2 separate regions of the Homo sapiens genome follow, and region 2 is linked to region 1. Evidence: promoter capture Hi-C in 16 types of primary human blood cells and fetal thymus (Javierre and others, 2016). All regions are on one chromosome and are shown on one strand. The core of a region is centred on a gene start or on the middle of the fragment in contact, and the rest is flanking DNA. Distances in the headings are between cores, read along the strand shown.

Region 1 (5,331 bases), core at 1,403-3,902:
ATGGAGGATGGCATCCAAGGTTCTGTTTTGGGTGGCCACTGGGTGGAGGTGTGTTTCTCTAAGTTGAAGAGGCACTGGCGGAGGAAGAGAGAGTTCATCGAGGGATGCGCTAAGATGACCCGAGCCACCCAGGTGGAGGTGTTGAGTAGAGGGATGTCTGGACTCTGAAGCAAGGTGTGGGGGTTATACGCTGAGAGATGGGAGGTACGGGTGGGTGAGGGTCCAGATGGGGCCCTGAGGAATTCACACCTAAGCATGAGAAGGGGCCATGGCACCAGGGAAGAAGATGAGAAGAGCTGGAGAAGCAGGAGGAAAGCTGGGTGAGGGCAGGAATCTGGAAGCAGAGGGGAGCAGGCGGCATGGGCAGCGCCTTCACTGCAGCAGGTCAGGCATGGACAGCTGACCCAGGCCTTTGCTGCCCGAGTGTGGCAGGTGGACATGGGGAGGGGATTGTTGGCTTGCCTGAGAGAGTGGTTGGGGAGGTGGGAGCTGTGGGGCTGTGTAGACTAAAGGTGCAGCCAGGAGACTCCAAGTTTGGAGAGCCTTCCCTGATTGCTTCCTGTAGAACGATGGACTCCCTCTCCAGTGCTCTTACAGCCACCTCTGTGTAGCATCTCAGATGGATTGTCTCCTCTCAAACAGAGACTTTCCCCAAAGCAAGGCACTAGCACAGACTGATGCTCAGGAAATTGCTGTGGCCTGAAAGGGTAAATAAGAAATGGGGAGTGGGCCACTAGTTAACAAATGCTATCAGCATAGCCCATCTGCATGTCCTGCTACTGAGGAAAGTGCTCTGAGAGGTCATCATTGGGGAAGGAACTGAGGGAGAAAGAAAATGGGGTTGCTTTCTGGCCCTAGTCATGCAGGGAGTGGATCTCTGTGGAGTTTCTTTCTCTCTGTAATGGCCAGTAGCTGCCCTGCCCTCTCCCGAGTGTAGAATGCAAATGTGAATGGCAGCACACTGCAAATGGTGCTCTGAAGTGCGAAGGCCAGGAAGAAGGGATGGCCTGGATCCTGGCCACAGAGCCAGCATTCTGCCTGGGCTCATAGCCCTGTGGTCTGGGATTCTCCAGGCCTGGCCATGGTTGCTGGTAAACCTAGGGTCCTCCCCTCACTTCCCTGGGTGATGCGCCCCATGGGCAGGTTTGTGGCATGCATATGGGAATGGAGCACAGTAATTCATTTTGGAAAGCAACCCACTCCTGCTCTGCTCCAGCTCGTTAGTAGTTCAAGCAGCAGCTTTCTGGGCCTGGGAGGCCATCCTGGGCTGCCAGGGACACTGCCTGCCAACGTAAGACCTCCTCAATTGGTGCTGACACAGGACTGAGGGGATGACAAACTGCCTGGCACCCCTTAGGTGGTCTTCCAGAGGAGTGGGTTTTGAGAATTGTCAGGCTTTCCACTTGTGGATGCATTCCAATGGTGAACTCAGTAAAAGGCCACTCTTCAGAGACCTGCATTTCTCATAGCAGCCCTAGGCATATATCCCGGGCATGACAGGGCACAGCTTGGGGTTGATGCTGATGGCAACTCTGAAGCCTCAAGACTGAGTGGGTCACCATAAGCAGCAGGAAGTTGAGGTGCCGGGATGGGGTGTGATGCTTCCACTCCTCCCTGGAACTTTGCAATACTTCCCTAGCCAGGCCGGCGACTCCATCCCGGGCTGTCCTCTCCCGATACAGGTCCACTCTCTGTGTGCCGGGGCAGGGGAGGGAGTGATGCTGCAGGAAGGTCCCTTCACCTCCAAGTCCCCACTCCTCAGTGGACAGGCCTTTGTAGGATCAAGCTTCGGTGGTCAGGCTCTGTCTTGCTTTGGAAGAAGGAGGTCTGGCTGGCTGTCGCTTCATATTAACCTGGATGACGTGACATGAATATGCCCAGTGGGACAAGAGCAGGCCCAGCAGAGGCCCCTTCCTCCTGACCATACCCTTCACCATTCTTGTCAACCTTGGGGTGTCTTGGCTGAGACCCACAGCTGAGTCCCTGCTGGAAACTAGCAGAACGCTGGGGGGCTTCGAGTCTTCTTAGGAAGGGAGGAAAGACACTCTCATTGTAATCAAAAGCCTCTCCGCACAGCAGGCCACTTCTCCAGTGAGCACGGACCCCTGGCCTGGGGCCTGGCTGAATGTAGGGTCTGCCTACAGAGAGGGAGTTTGAGGTACAGAGCACCACCTCTGCCTTCTGTTGGCCCAGGGCGGACAGTGTAGGGTGAGCCAGGGCCAGGCAGGGAGCTGGGCCCCTAGAGAGCTGTAGCTGAAAGTTAGACATGACCCTGAACCACCAGGTGCCTGCTCTAGGCACGGGGTACTGAGTGGGACATGGCTGAGATGAACAAAAAGGCATCACTGCCCAGAGTTGGGATGGGAGAGAGTCCACAGCTGATTGGAATCAGCATTGTCAGCACAGCACAGTACAGGGAGATACGCGCATTGCCGTCTCTGGATGGGCGGCTGGCACTTTCAGTTCAAAGGCGCTGAGGCTCTGAAGTTGGCAAGGAAGAGGATAACCCGGAGAAGGGAGGACTAAGAGAATTTCACTTGATGACCCTTGCCTCTTTGTGTCTGGGATGAGCCGCGCGGAGCGCACCCTTATCCACCCAGAGTGCTGTGCCTTTAAGGTCCACTGGGGGCGTGATGTCAGCCGCCCTCCGGCACTTGGAGAGGTGAGCGCGGCAGCCCGCGCAGCCGGTGACTGGGGGACTGGGTTTGGAGTAGGACCTGCGGCGTGCTCGAGACTCCGACTTCGGTCTTGCGGCGCGCTCGCGCCCGCGGGCCATGCCCCACTGACTCTAAGTGGGCACTGCCCCGGCTCCGGGAGGGCGAGACCGAGCGCCGGCCATGGGAAGCTTCCAGCTGGAAGACTTTGCGGCGGGCTGGATCGGAGGTGAGTGTGCTTACCGGGGACCCCCGGTCAGAGAGAGCGAGCCTGGCGGAGTTTGCCTCTATGCTCTGAGGAAACTTTGCCTCTGTGCGCTGCCATCCCGCTCCCCGTTGTGCGCGCAGCCTGCTTTGGGGAGTGCCCGGCCCCGAGATCCCCCTGGTGGTCTTGCAGTTGCCAGGGCTAAATTCTGAGAGCTTCACAGCGTTTCGGGCTGAGCTTCTGATTTGCTCATTAAGTTAGGATCCGTGGGACTTGATGAGGTAATGATTAAACAGCTCGTCAAAGCCCACAGCCAATGGAGGCTCCTGGCGGCGCACACACCCTTCAGTGACCTGGTGCACACCTGAATTGCGGACGTGGCTCGCGGGAACTTATGTATGAGGGTAGCGCTTGGCTGCTGATCCCGGGGCGCAGGGTGGTGGGAGCCAGGCTTCGAGATTAGGCCGGCCCAACGGGGCGTCCCGACTGGAGGGAGCAGAGCTCTCACAGCAGGGAGCGGAGCGCCGGCTGCAGGTGCCCATTGCCAGGCTGCGAGGAGCACTTATTGCCTTCAGCCGCCGCCAACCGTCAGCCATCGCCTACCTCCAAGGCCCCTTCTCCGGGCACTGTTGGGTCTGCTGATCCCTTCGCCACAGCTCCCGAAGCCACTCTTTTACTGGGCCTGGGATGGGTTGCCTGGGCGAGAGTTGCATTCATTTCCTTGCTTCTCCATTTTTCTTTCCAATTGGTCTATCCCTCTTTTCTCAGCTATTAGGAAAGGGGGAAGTTTGAGGGACTTTGCTAATTGTAAAAAAAAAAAAAAAAAAAAAAAAAAGTCTTTCTTTGGACCCATCTAAAAGGGTTATCCTAAAAGGGATGTTGGCAAATGTAGCCCCTCACCAAAGGGGTGAAAAAATAAGATGAAAAGAACAACAAACCAGATTGGATCCCAACTCCTCCCCTCCTACCTAGCAGGAGACCACCTCTCTCCCGAGACCGGTGGCTGCAGGGCCCTGCTTCACACCTTCCTGAGCAGAGGTGGCTCCTTTCACCTTGAGTAAGTCTGTTGGCACAGATGCCCTTGGGTGGGGCTGAGACCCGCCTCTCCTAACTTTCCCAGTTAGGGGGCTGCAGCCTGAGGCCCGCTGGGCATATCCAGGTCCTTTTTGACTGGACAATTATTCCACCATTCAGCGGGGCAGGCAGAGAGAGGAGACACTTCCGTGGGCTGCCCCTTAAATAAGCAGACCACCTTCGGTAGGGATGCAAATGGCTTGGTTTGAAAAATGCCCTGGAAGGTAGGGCTGAGTCAGAGTAGTTCCAAGACTCTGATACCCCTCCCCATCCCCAAACGTGATAACATGTGAACCCTCCCCGACTCACAGCAAGTAGGGGATTTTTGTGCTTTATTCTGGTCCTTACTTTGGTGATGTTATTGAAAGTAATGGCAAAAATCGCAATTACTTTTGCACCAAACTAATAACATGGCTTTTTTTTTTTTTGGCTTCCATGAAATGATGGTAAGTGTTTACTACACTTGAATACTTACTAGGTGCCAGGTATAGTTTAAGTGCTATATGTATTCTTTTAAAACAATTTTATCAAGGTTTATTTTATGTATTATAAAATTCACCCATTTCAAATGTACAATTCAATGTCTTTTAGTAATTTTACAAAGAGGTGCAACCATCACCATAAATTTGTTTTAGAACATTTTCATCCCCCAGTAAGATCCCTCATTTGAAGTTGAATGCTGTTCCCTCTCCTTAATCTCCTTTCTGTAAATTTGCCTTTCCTGTATATGTTATGTCAATTGAATCTTGCAATATGTGATCTCTTGTGTCAGTTTATGTATAGTTCTTTAATTATTATAACAACCCCAAAGAGGTAGGTACCGTTGCATCCTTATTTTACAGATGAGGAAACTGAGATACAGAGAAATTCACTGACTTGCCTAAGACCATGCATCTAGCATTGGCACCAGGATTCCAACCCAGGCTGCCTGGCACCAGAATCTGCCATCTTAATTTCATCTTAACTCTTTCTGAACAACCTTGCATAACAAAATTTTGCCCTTTTTTTGATATTATCCCCCCCCCCACCCCCCCCCCCCACACACACACACATTTTGTTTGAGATTTTACTGGTTTGTGAAGTGCCAAGGTCTGGAAATCACTGACCTTATAATCCCATTTTTTTAAATCTCAAATCCCCTGCTTTCAGATGGGTGGGCTAATAAGTGGCAGGGAGATGTTGGCCCAAGGCTGGATCTAAGCCTGCCCTGAGCTGAAGGATGTGTGCACTCACTATGGGGGAAGCCATGGAGCCTGAGGACCAGCGCACCTCCCCCCACTACTGGGAAGGGTTAATTACTGCCATCACCTCTCTGCCTCTGCCCAGTTTAGTAGGTAGGAGGGGATAAGAGGGGACAGGTGGTTCTGGACCCAGGGAATCATTGTTCTGGGATTAGCT
Region 2 (5,676 bases), core at 1,473-3,972, 250 kb before region 1:
GAATCTGTGTCGTCTCTTCCCAACTGGAGAGCCCTTGCTGCTTCAAGAAGAAGCTGAGCCATGAAAAGCAAGCAGCGCCTATGCGTGCTGTTGTGCCTATACCTAAAGCAAAGCCAATAGCTGGACATTTGCATTTATGCATGAGATGAGTATGAGGGAGTGACTTTTGGCATTTATGTTAGTTTTTAACTCTAAAAATAATTTTTTAAAATATAGAAACAACACGTTTGCCCAGAAAAATCAGAAAACCCAAGCAGAAGAAAACTAACATTTTCACGCAAGTAAAATCTTGGGTGAAATCTTCCCAAAGCATCCTCTTTTTGCTTTGTGTGCACATGTACACATGGGATCAGGCTGCATGTAGTCTTTAATAACCTGCTTGCTATACCTATTAGCATATTGTGAACATCGCTCCATGTGGCTAGCCTTGCTACAACAATAGCTCCCTTAATGGTTTCATCTGAGGCCGGGTAGTATAATGGCTAAGAGGCTGGTGTCTGGAGTCAAATTGCCTGAGTATGCATCCTAGGGACTAGCTGTGTGACTTTGGGCAAATACCTTAACTCTATTTGGTATTGGTTTCCTCATCTGTGAGATGGAGATGATAATAATATGTACAGCATAGGCAGAATTAAATGAGATAGTGCATGTAATGCTTTTAATGTGGTCCCCAACACAGAGTAAGTGTTTGATATGTGCTGACCATTGCGGTTATCATGATTTTAGCTGCAGAGTATTCCGTCATACAGATGTACCAGAATTAATTTGACTACTCCTTGCTGGACATTTGGATTGTTTTCAACCTTACCCTCTTACAACCAATGCTGTTTGACAAATATTCTTGTAGCTCCATTTTGGGGTAGGTTTTAATACATTGGATCAGCCCTCAGAAATAGAATCATGGGGCCATGGCACATGCCCATTTTAAGACTTTTCATAGAAATTGCCAATTGCTTTCCAAAAAAATATATTTTATGCTGCAAAGGAATTTCTTAAATACCAAGCTTTCCTAGAGCATGTAAAGTATTATTTTTTATTAACGATTTTATTTCTAACATGTTTGTTTCAAGAATATGTTGATTGATTAACTGGGATCTAACAACACCAGCGATCGTGGGCACTGAGTTTTCACAGGAAAAAGTAGTTGGCTCTAGAAATATGGACCAACGTTCCCCAGCTTCTTGGGCTGGACCAGAGGTCAGACGTCCCAGTGTTTTGTCCTCAGTTACACTCCTCAGTCTGTGTATGCAGATCTCTGGTTTGCAGAAGGCAGCCACTGTGCAAGCAGAGCTGAGCCCTTGTTTGTGTGAGTTCTTCTGGAGCCATGGTACAGGAGAGCATGAGGCCCCTGCTGCCAGCAGGTCTGTGGGGGATGCTGCCTAACTGGGTGAGGGAGGGGGCTTGGCCCCTGACACACCTTCAGGGCACAGACTGTCTAGTGAGCCCAAGCCGAGGGCCTCTGAGCAGGTGGGCATGTGTGAGGCCGTTCTTTGTACAGTGGCACTGTCTGCTTCAAGGAGGTCCCTGGGGTACAGTGAAGGACAGCACACATGCCTTGCCTGTGTGTGTGTATGCATGTGTGCAGATGTCAACACATTCATGGTCATACTGGATTCTACAGAAGAGGTAGACGTGAAGTGTGGGGGCACAGAGGAGGGAGGAAGTGGAAACAGGACATCACTCCTTGAGGGAGTGGAAATTTTGCTGAGACCCCAGGGATTTGCTTATTTCTTCTCTTTACATTTATTGAGCACCCACTGTGTCCCAGGCGTTGTACGAGGTGCTGGGGGTTTGAGGTGAGCCAAGGCAGCTGTGTGCCTGTCCCCAAGCAGCTCAGAGTCTAGTGGGGAAGGCAGACATTAGCTATAAACCACAGAGATCAGTGTGAAACTCCTGCAGAGGTCAGTGTCCTGGAGGGTGGTTGGTGCTAGGAGACTCATCAGGGGATCTGACAGGGTGACGAGGTGGGGACAAATTCCTGGAGGAAAGGGCCATTGAGTTAGATATGAAGGATGGAAAGGAATTAACCAGTGACCACAGGAGGGAGGCCACTCCTGGCCCTTCATGGTCCCTGCTGCTCACACAGTGATCTCCTGGGGGAAGTCCCTGCTCTGAACCCTTTACTGGCTCCCGATCTCATGCAGAGTGGAAGCCAAGTCCCCAGCAGTGCGCACCCAATCATGACCAGCACCTGCCATGCTCCCCACAGGCTGTGCTCCAGATACTCTGCCTTGTCTTACCTTCAAACATCCAAGCCTGTTCCCACCTCAGGGTCTTTGTGCTCACTGGCCCCTCCACCTGCAGTGCTCCTCCCCAGGGGCTGACAGGCAACCCTCTTCTCCTCAGTGAGCCTGGGCTCCAATATTCACCATCCAGTTCTAATCCCACGAGCATACCCCCAACAACAGTCCCTCTCTGTGTTGCCACCGATTTTAGTTTATTCATTGTATGTGCAGCAACCTCAAATTGTACATTTTCATATTTATTTGGGGGTGCATTGTGGATGATCTGTCTGTGTCTGTGGGTGTCTGTCTTGCTCATCCTCAGTATCTACAACAGTGATTGGCATGTAGCAGGGGTTCACTCCCTATCTGTGGAGTAAATAAAAACATGTTTCAGGCAACAGCTCAGCATGTGAGAGTACTGCTGAATCCAGGCTGCACAGGCTACAAGGTTGCATGTGAGAAAGTGTGTGTGCGTGTGTGTGTGTGTGTGTTTGCGTGTGTGTAGGGGTGGCCATGGGGAGTCCATATTCCCAGGGAAGCCAGTTCATCCTCAGGGCATTTGTTTTAGAGATGAAGTCTCTGGGAAGAGGAGGTGGTGATAACAGGAGTGTGACTTTCCAGGAAATCCCACAGGTGTCTGGGCACTACCTCCTTGGTCTGCTTAGAAAGGGGTCTTGACTGGTCAAGGCTGGTTTTCTGCCCTGGGAGCTGGGATCCAGGGCAATTCCTTCCCCCATTCTTTTAGTTCTTTTCGTGACTGACCTTCTTTTCAGAAGAGGAGTCCTTTTTACTTCCCTGGCAGGACAGGAATCCTAGAATTCAGCACTGGTAGAGGCTGAGGCCACAACTGGCCTTCATTGTACATATGAGGAAACTGAGGCCCAGCAATGGGGTTGACTGCATACAAGATCTCCCTGTGCATTAATGTTAGCCAGCCTCCTGTCTCTGTGTCCTGTACCTAGCTACTTAGGCCAGAGCAAGATCCTGGGCTCCAGTAACCTGTCTGGCCCCATCACCACTCATGACATGGTGGGTCACCCCAAAATACCTGCTTCCATTGTGTTGTGTGGCTGCTGGCTCTGAATCCAAGCCTGGCGGGTGCCTCTCCCTCTCCAGCTCCTCCCTCTGTCTGTTCACCTGCAGCCTGTGGAGTCTGGGCAGCCAGCTGCCTCCTCTGTGCAGCTTTCTTTCAGCTACAGCCCTGCATGCTGACCCCTTCCCTGGCCATGCTCTGGGGTGAAGGAAGTTGAAGGACCAAGGTTCCCAAGAACAACCTCTGGTTTTGTTCTTCACACTGCAAATATTTAGAGATCCTGAGTAACTTAAGCCCAGAGAAAATGATGTGGGGGACAGCCAGGCAGTATTGAATTAGGCTTAAAGCAGCCCCGAGGCAGAGTGTATGTAGGGGGGCTCTGTTACTCAGATGGGTCACAGGGGGCACTGCAAGATTCCCCTAAACATGGGAGAAAATGCTTGCAGCAAATATGACAAACCAACAAGTAGCATTTATTCCACCATCTATTCATCCAACAACACTCCCTTACAGGCAAGCATCTTTATTATATTAAGAACACATGCAAAGATATTTCCGAAGAGGGCCCTAACATATAAATGAGCAAAGGACATCAAAGGACAATTCAGGAGAAAAAGAAAGGCAATTAACCAATTCATCAAAGAACATGCATCCTCTTTGGCAATGAAGGAAAAGCACAGCAGTGCTGCAGGATCACGGCATTTTGGTTTTGGTCCCACTCAATGAGGAAATGTTTATTTTAAATAGCAACATCCAAAGCTGATAATGGTAAAGTGAGGAAGCATCACTTAAGCATCACTCATGGGACTATCAATTGGTACAAAATTTGGGGAAGTTATATTTATAGTATGGTATCCAGACTGTTTGAAGTAAACCATTTCATCTTATTAACCACTTCAGAAATCTGTTTAAAATTCTCATAATGGAGAAATACCACATGCAAAGCTAGTCCTTGTTAAAAATAAAGATTTAAACTAAATGCCCAACAATGGGGGATTAAGAAAACAATGAAAGCTCTAAATTTGTGGAGTAAATGCTTATGCAGTAAGTAGAAAAAACACAAGGTTGTGTAAACACTGTGATTATAAGTATGCAAAACAGTAACCTCTGTACAAAGGATGGCAAGACAGAGTTACAAACGTCATTCTCTTTGAGTGGCGAAATGTTGGGCATTGTTGTTGTAAAGCTTCTCTCCTTGCTTTCCAGTTTTTCAGAATGTTCTTGTTATAACAGCAACTCAGGAGCAGTTGATTCAGCGAGGGCTTGGGCAGCCTTCAGCCTCACTGAGCAGACGCTGGCGATGGGCGATGAGCACCTGTGCTGTGCAGGTGGCACTGCAGAGAGGCAGGTAGAGTTGTTGGTGGCTTGGGTGAGTCCCATGGTGAGGGTCTAGGCCCATCTTTAGAGCTGTCCCCCACTGCTTGGCACAGGGGAACAAGCAGCCCCTCCATCCGGCCTCACTTGTCCTCATTCTGCTCTGCCCCACCTCCTGCCTCTCTCACCAGCCCTGTTCCATGTTTGCAGCAGAGTCCTAGGCCTCTGTGCAGGCACCGCCAAGTCCTGTCTCCTTGGCTAGGCTGTTTGCTTTCGTTTGCCTTCCTGAAACTGCGAAGATGTCATTTTACAGGGAAGCCCTCCTTGACTGCACACATCTGCCTGACTCCCGTCCTAGCCCCAGGGTAGGAGAGGCACCTGCTGTCCGCGTGGCTCGTAGACCTTGTTGTCTCCAGTGCCACTCCTCACACTTGTAAAGGCTCCTATGAGGTCTTCTTTCAGGTCCATGATCCTCTGAGGTTGCTCTGTGTCTTTCTTATTAATTCTAGTTCCCCAGCTTGAGCACAGGGCCGGGCACACAGTAGGTGCTCAATGAAGAAATGATTGAATGCAGGATGAACGAATGCAGGATGAATGAATTAATGTGGATCACAGTTTATCACAGTCTAGTGTGTTACAGAGTCAGACTTCCTGGTCTAGAGTACTAGTCTATCACTCTGTGCTTCTGCTTCCTCATCTGTAAAAAGAAGATAATAATAATAATAATAATAAATAATCAGGCTGTGATAAGGATTAAATGAGCTGATATAGAACAAACATGTTGCACAGTATCTTGTCACATAGTAAGTGTTCCATAAATGTTCATTCTTGTTTTATGATTATTAAATCTCGTAGACTCACTCCCCTTATCTGTGGGTTGGCTTGGCTAATTTCTTTTGCTTTATATTTATGAAATGCTTATAGAATGCTTACTATGTCTCAAGGACTGTTCTAAGTGCTATACAAATATTAATTTATTTAATTTTCATAACCACACAAAGTAGGTTATCCCCATTTTACAGATGAGGAAACTGAGGAGAAGGTTAAGTATGTTGCCCAAAATAACTACCAAGTGGCAGAGCTGAGATTCAAACCCAAGCAATC

Evidence for each region. Contacts are between HindIII fragments. The CHiCAGO score rates a contact against its expected background, and 5 or more counts as called.
Region 2: a contact is called between a fragment that was not itself captured here and the fragment with the promoter of SLC25A48 in region 1, in 3 of 17 cell types (M1 macrophages, M0 macrophages and megakaryocytes). The highest score is 6.8, in M1 macrophages.

The regions. Positions count from the first base shown.
Region 1 is chr5:135,832,011-135,837,341 of GRCh38, forward strand. It overlaps SLC25A48 (solute carrier family 25 member 48), which reads left to right and starts at 2,653. Exons shown (of 8, transcript NM_001349336.2): 1 at 2,653-2,883. The coding sequence starts at 2,838. RefSeq lists an enhancer at 1,618-2,119. The HindIII fragment of the contact is 1,059 bases long and covers 1,785-2,843 here.
Region 2 is chr5:135,580,484-135,586,159 of GRCh38, forward strand. It overlaps a transcript of SLC25A48 not described here. Among named protein-coding and RNA genes, the nearest start is that of CXCL14, 4.3 kb to the left of the region's middle. RefSeq lists an enhancer at 4,260-4,761. The HindIII fragment of the contact is 3,440 bases long and covers 1,003-4,442 here.